Regions from separate parts of the Homo sapiens genome. Here region 1 is linked to region 2. The links are contacts of gene promoters, found by promoter capture Hi-C in human tissues and cell types (Jung and others, 2019). All regions are on one chromosome and are shown on one strand. Each heading gives the region's core, a stretch centred on a gene start or on the middle of the fragment in contact. The rest is flanking DNA. Distances are from core to core; before and after follow the strand shown. Region 1 has its middle 40 kb from the start of ATP8B1. Region 2 holds the start of FECH (ferrochelatase).

Region 1 (3,203 bases), core at 283-2,782, 260 kb before region 2:
GCAATTTTATGTATGTAACGAAATAAGAAAGGAACTAGGCTGGACATTGTTCAGAGGGCAATAAACAGTGGGTGAGTGATAGATGGGGAAAGATATTGCAGGGTACCTTCCAAGTGTGTATAAGGATTAATTTGCATCCTGTATTGCAAATATTTATAAATTCTTTCAAGTCCTTGAAAGAGAAGTCTAAATGTGGGATCAGAATGAATGAGAATGGTGAATTTTCTATAATGTGCAATCAAGCAAACTAGTGGGAAAATGAGAAAAGTCAAAAAAGCTAACAACGACATTGAAATAAAGCCTTGAAAAGAGTTTGATTTGCAAATTGGTATATGAGAGTTTACACGTTTAAATAATTTCCTACACCAAAGTAGCAGTCCTTGCATTTATGATAAACATGCTGCCCAGTGCAAGTCAGAATGTTTGAATTATTACTAAAGGATGTGAGCTGGGCCCTTCATGAAGAGCAGAAGTCAGCTAAACCACTTCGTGCTTTGAGGTACAAATGTAAATGAAATTAGCGGGAACTCTATCCCACCTGCAGTGGGACAGGAGTGGCGCAGCTCTTCCAACCTCCTCTGGCTCAGTTGGCCCCTTCAAGGCTCACTCATGGGTTCTGTGTTCGGGTGCCCCAGCATGACGCCCCAGATGAGAACACAAAGTCCTTTTCTCCATCTCTCCCCACGATGTCATAAGTGTTCACCAAAGGTTGAGAAAACGACCAAGAGGTGGCCGTTCTCACACTGGGGAATGCGATGGCACTCCTGGGCAAACAGCCTAATGCTGAACAGTGCGCACCTTCTCCTTCAGTCCTGAGAATTTCTTGGCAAACCTTCACCCCTAGGTGGGCTTTCCTCCACAGGCTGCAAGGCTTCTGCCACGTGGCTGTGACCTCCTGCTCCTCACTCCCATTACAGACTCCCTCATCCCTCCAGCCCCCTTCCTTGGATCTCTGCCAGCTCAACCAGCCTTGCTTCATTATGCAAAACACTCCAGGTCACACCTCAGCCAAATATCCATTCATGAGCTCTTCTTGCACCCTGGCCTCCCAGGGGAACATGCAAGGCTTTAAAATATTTTTTACTCCTTTCTCCCATCTCTCCAGCCCCAGTGAGAGGAAAAAGACAGGAAAAAGTTTACTTCCCCATGGAAATGATTTATGCTGGACCTCTTGGAAGGTCCAGTTGTCTGGCTAGAAACAGTTGAAGTCTAAAATACCCATAGCTTTCTTTCTGTACAGGAGTGGAAGACAAGTTTCAGAATGTTTGAGCCCTTCACCCAAAGGCACACAAGGCAGGTGGGGAGGCAGGAATCTAACCCAGGCTGAAGTTTCTAGATCTAGTATTTGTACTAAGCTGCCATGCTGCTTTATGTCTGTGACCATGTTGGAAAAAGTGTTTTAGCTGTACCATCACTTAGTTACAACTATTCTGATTCTGTTTAATCATCCACCTAACTTCATAGAAGTTAGGCTCAAGCTTCTATTTTCTTAATGTTTACATTTTTCCAATATAAAATAATAGAAAAAAATTGCTCATTATACTGGGGTAAGTAGTATCCCCTCAAAATTTATGTGTACCCAGAACCTCGGAATGTGACCTTATTTGGTGAAAGGATCTTTGCAGAATAATGAGTTAAGATGAGGTTATACTGGGTTAGATTTGAACCCAAATCCAATGACTTACTCCTTACAAGAAGGCCATATGAAGATGCTCAGGGAAGAAGGGCGTGTGAAGACAGCAGCAGAGATTGCAGGAACACAACTACAAGCCAGGAAACCCCAAGGATGACAGCCACCACCAGAAGCTAAGAGAGGCAAGAACAGATTCTCCCCAACAGCCTCCAGAAGGAACCAATCCTATCCAAACTTCAATTTCAGATTTCTGGGCTCCTGTGAGAGAATAAATTTCTGTTGTTTTAAGTCACCCAGTTTGTGGAACTTTGTTACAGCAGCAGTAGCAAACTAATAGGCTGATTAAAGGAAAATGGAAATTAACAGTGAAAAGGAGAGATGAATGAATGCCCATCTGATTTGCAGCTTCTTGACACTTTTGATGTGTTTCTTTCCAGTCATTTTGTGTTAGGTATAACCATGCTGCACATACACTTCTGTCTCCTGATTTTTGCTTAGTGTTAAAAACATTTATCCAGACTAATGTGTAAGTTTTGAAAGCATGATGTCAATGATTATATAATGTTTCACTAAGAGAATGCTCTAATTTTCTCATGATTATTTATCAGTGTCGTCCTGGGTTCATGTTTATTTAATTAACATGTATATCAACTGGTGCAGTCCTGGCACATTTTGTGACTGTCTGCTCACACTGGAGAGGCAGTTAAGAGCCTAGAGCTCAGGAGAGGTTGCCTGGCTTCCCACCTTACCCCACTTCTTACTAGCTGTATGACCTTGGGCTAATTACTTATTCTCTCTCTGCCTCAAGTTTCCTCACCTATAAAATATGAAAGAAAAGCCTACTTTATAGGGTTGTCTTGAAATAAATTAATGTCTGTACAGGACTGGCTCGTGGTAAGCCAGTGAATAAAATTGGTGAATAAAATTTATTCAGAGCATCTATTATGTGCTGGGTTCTTGAAAATACACTTAGTTCTTGAAAAAACTTTACCCTCCCAAGAAAGCCAACGTGTTAAAAAAAATGCATGCAAAAAGTCATAACAGAAGTAAAACCTTATGGTAAATTGGGGTTGGAATAGATTGTGTAGGTGGTGGACTGGGTTTCCGTTTCCCTCCATTAGACTGTGGCTGCAGTGGATGTCAATTGTTACAAAGTTTTCAAAATATATCATACATGCCTAAAAGTAGAATGACTCATTAAAAGGTGTGAACATTTTTAAAGGCTGTGGACATAATATATTGTCAACATGCTTTCCAAAAAGTAGTAGCAATTCACACTTTCTCCAGCAATACAGAGGGTTCTCTGCATCTTTGGTGGCATTGGAAATGCATTCTATAACCTGTAAGTTAAAAATACTTCCTTATTTTAATTTGTGCTGAATTACTTTTGATGATAGATACAGGTAGGTAGGTAAGTAGGTAGACAAATTCTAAACTTTATTATTTTTGTTTGGTTGGCTGGTTTGGTTTCGTTGTTGTTGTTGTTTTGTTGAGACGCTGTTGAGACAGGGTCATGCTCTGTCACCCAGGCTGGAGTGCAATGGCACGATCATAGCTCACTGTACCCTCT
Region 2 (3,580 bases), core at 280-2,779:
AGGTGGGTGGACCACTTGAGGTCAGAAGTTCGAGACCAGTCTGGCCAACATGGCAAAACTCTGTATCTACTGGAAATACAAAACAAACAAATAACAACAACAACAACAAAAATGGGTTCAGACTGTAGGTAGAGAAGTATGTTATCCATGAAGATCACCTCTTTACAGGGCAACTTAAGAAGACTATAATTTTTTTATGAGGGTAGAGAATAGCCACACATATAAGGAAGGTGGGTTGATACCTGGAGCAGGTTTTACTGTGCTTTTCTCAGGACATCCGCTTGGATATGAAGATCATGTAGGTAATATGAAAGGCTATCCATTTAATTTGACATTTTGCATTGGGCTTATAACCATCAGGAGGACCAACTTTAATAAGAAATAAACTAATTCCATCAGTAGCACATATTTAAGCTACAGAAAACTGGGTTTCAGCTGAATCTAGACTCCATCTTCCCTGAATGTTCCATATGGCTTGCCCCCTTTGCTCAAATGTGTATAAGGCCTTTGCTCGAATGTGTGAGACTCTGACCCACCTGCTTCAAATTGCATTAGTCCCTTCCCCCACCCTACCCCATCTCTTTTACCTTGCTTCATTCTTCTTTTGTCCTGAGAGGGAAAAAGAAGAGGGGAGGCCGTGGAAGGGCTCCATCATTCAAAGTATTACATGTTGTGATTATTTTCTGTGTCTCCCCTAACCCCATGTAAGCCCCCGTCTACTCTTTTCACTACTGTTTTCCCAGTGCACATAGTAGGTGCTCAATATTTGTTCAATGAATACCGATGCCTGAGACCTTTCTGTACCAAGGGCTGGTTTCCTACTCCACAATGCACTGAACATATATAGGCAGGGTGGGCTGACGGAGGTGTAGGAATGAAATGGGCGCCTGTTCCTCCCAGTGATCTCAGTGTGCGACCTTGGGGGCGGGACGGGCGGCTAAACTGGGAAGGTGCGCGGATATGATACAGACAAACCTCATCATACCGTCCCTCCAAGAAATGCACTTGCCAGGCTGGCCTTCACTTTTCCTAATGCTCTTCAGTGAGTTTCACCTGTCAAATTCTGCTACACAGAGAGGGTGCAGAGAAACTGAATAATCCCTTTTTCTATTCTGAAAATAAAGCAAAACAAAACAGGATCTGCACACTTGTGTTGTGACTAGGCAGGCAAACTGGAGAACTGAGGCAAAAGCATCCTTATATCTAAATAATAGTAATGGAAACGTCGAAAAAAGTTATTTGCTGAGTCATGGCTGAGGATCCTGACTTCGCTAGTTTGGCAGATGCAAACAGGGCACGCAACTAGGAGTCCAGCAGGTTTTGCAGTGACCTGCGATGGTGGTGGGGAGCGGGCTTCTAGCTCAGCCCCCGGGCCCATTTTCACGCAGGGAGCGGCGCCCAGCTGGGGCGGGCTCTCCGCGAGGGGCGTGTCTCTGCCTGGCCTCGCCCGCCCCGGCCCGGCAGCGAATGAGCGGGCGCGCCGGGAGGGCGCGAGGTCAGGGGGCTGGGGACGCGCGTGGGGATCGCTACCCGGCTCGGCCACTGCTGGGCGGACACCTGGGCGCGCCGCCGCGGGAGGAGCCCGGACTCGGGCCGAGGCTGCCCAGGCAATGCGTTCACTCGGCGCAAACATGGCTGCGGCCCTGCGCGCCGCGGGCGTCCTGCTCCGCGATCCGCGTAAGTGGGTCTGTCGCGGCGGCCGCCAGGGCCAGGATCCCTGAGAAGGCGTGGGCAGAGCGGGCAGCTGGCGCCCGGGCCCTCGCGCCCGGGGGATTCGGGGAGCGGCCTTGGGGGTGCTGCGAGCAACCGGGCGAGGGGCGTCGCGGAGAAGGGAGGGCTGAGGGCAGCACTCAGGGCTCGGGAGGCCGCGGGGAGGGCGCCCGGATCCAGGAGGCGCAGGTTCAAGTCCCATCGGTCGGCTGGGTGGCTTGGAGCAGTGGCTGGAATTTCCCAGAGCCTTGGTTATTGTCACCTGCAATAACCAGGCTGTTGAGAAGATTACGCGAGGGAAGGTATGTTATGGGCCTGCCATAGAGGATAGTAAGGAAGGCATCTTCATCATCACCACCATGGACATCTGCCCTGCAGTTCCCTCCCTGCTGAGGAAAGCCCATGGTCCTTGGTCCCTCTGTGCCCACTTCTCCTTAGCAGCGGGACCCCCCGTGGGGCAGCCTGGGCTAGCGTTTTCTAGAGATATCTGGGGAACTTGTAAGACCCAGGAACAGCCTCCCACGTTTCTGATGCAAACCGTGAATAGGTTGTGACCACAGGATGAGCTGATGGGACTGTGGATCTCACACACCTGGCTGGGACAGCATTTCCAACTGTGACACCTTGAACAAGGCACCTAACCTCGCCAGAGCTTTGGTAAATGTACATTGAAATCCTAATTTTTTTTTTAAGGCTTGCCTTGAACATGAGCACCTTGCCTGGCACACAGTAGTACACAGGCATCCTCAAGATGTCTAGCCATTCATGCAGAAGGCTGCCACGAATAAGATGCTTATTCAATGCATCCGAACGGTGACTGGACACAGACCGGACATATTTTTCTAAGACGTTCGTCAGTCTGACACCTACTTGGAGTGGAGGGAATCCCCTCTGAACCTCCATATCTCATTAGACGTGCCTTTGTTAGGAAAATACTAAGGACCCAGTGTACAATGAGGCTAGCTCACTAAGGGCGCTGGGGGACAAAGGGCATTGTTTTTTAAGAAGAGGCAGCACAGTGCCAGTCGTGGGGCTGAAAGAAGTATTGAACTAATCTTTTCTTTCACTGACCTTTCCTGTGGCAAATAAAGTCTGACAGGTCCTAGATTTGAGGTCGTGGAACAATATGTGAAACTTTAAATTATTTGTAGTCTAGGTTAAAAGTGGAAAGATTCAGAAACGCTAGCAGAAGTAGATTTGGAGTCTTATTTGTGTTACAGACTTTGATTTGAAGGCATAGTTATAATACTTCATCATTTTGGTTGATAGGAAAAGATCAACTTCTGTGTGAGAAAACACTGAGGATTATTTCCGAAAATGAGTTCTGAAAGTAAAAGTGGAAAAGCAAAGTTTTATACTTTATGTATTTAGCATATTACAGAATTAATAAGAAGCTTCCGGGGGTGGGCCATATATTATCTGTCTGTTTAGCTATCTATATGAATTATTTTTTTTCTTGGTGCCTTTTTCTTTCCAAACTTTAAACGTTTTGTTTCTTTTGTTTTTTTAAGAGATGGAGTGTTGCTCTGTCGCTCAGGCTGGTGTACGGTGGTGCCATCATAGTTCACTGCAGCCTTGAAATCCTGGGATCAAGTGATCCTCCCGCCTCAGCCTCCCTGGTAGCTGGGATTACAGGCATGATCTAGTGTGCCTGGCCCCCCAAACATTTTTTTTCACTGAGCATATATTGTCTTATGTAATTAGAAAAACAATTCTAGGATAATAAAAGAGTTGTAGGGTTTACATAAGAGACATTAGAACATTTTGGCTCCATATCAGCAACTAACCAATATTTTGAAGCACCCACTATGTTTATTAATAGTTATAATATAGAACCTTATTTCTTTTGTTAATTTTAAAAACGGTGCAT

The links. The method cuts DNA at HindIII sites, captures the fragments that hold promoters and counts their contacts. A contact is called where the count stands out against the background at its distance.
Region 1: a fragment that was not itself captured here is called in contact with the fragment with the promoter of FECH in region 2 in 1 of the 25 tissues and cell types used here (aorta).

The regions. Positions count from the first base shown.
Region 1 is chr18:57,841,296-57,844,498 of GRCh38, reverse strand. No RefSeq gene overlaps it. Among named protein-coding and RNA genes, the nearest start is that of ATP8B1, 40 kb to the right of the region's middle. The HindIII fragment of the contact is 7,328 bases long and covers 1-3,203 here.
Region 2 is chr18:57,584,651-57,588,230 of GRCh38, reverse strand. It overlaps FECH (ferrochelatase), which reads left to right and starts at 1,529. Exons shown (of 11, transcript NM_000140.5): 1 at 1,529-1,677. The coding sequence starts at 1,611. RefSeq lists silencers at 1,348-1,707, 1,718-1,777, 1,788-1,837. The HindIII fragment of the contact is 16,879 bases long and covers 1-3,580 here.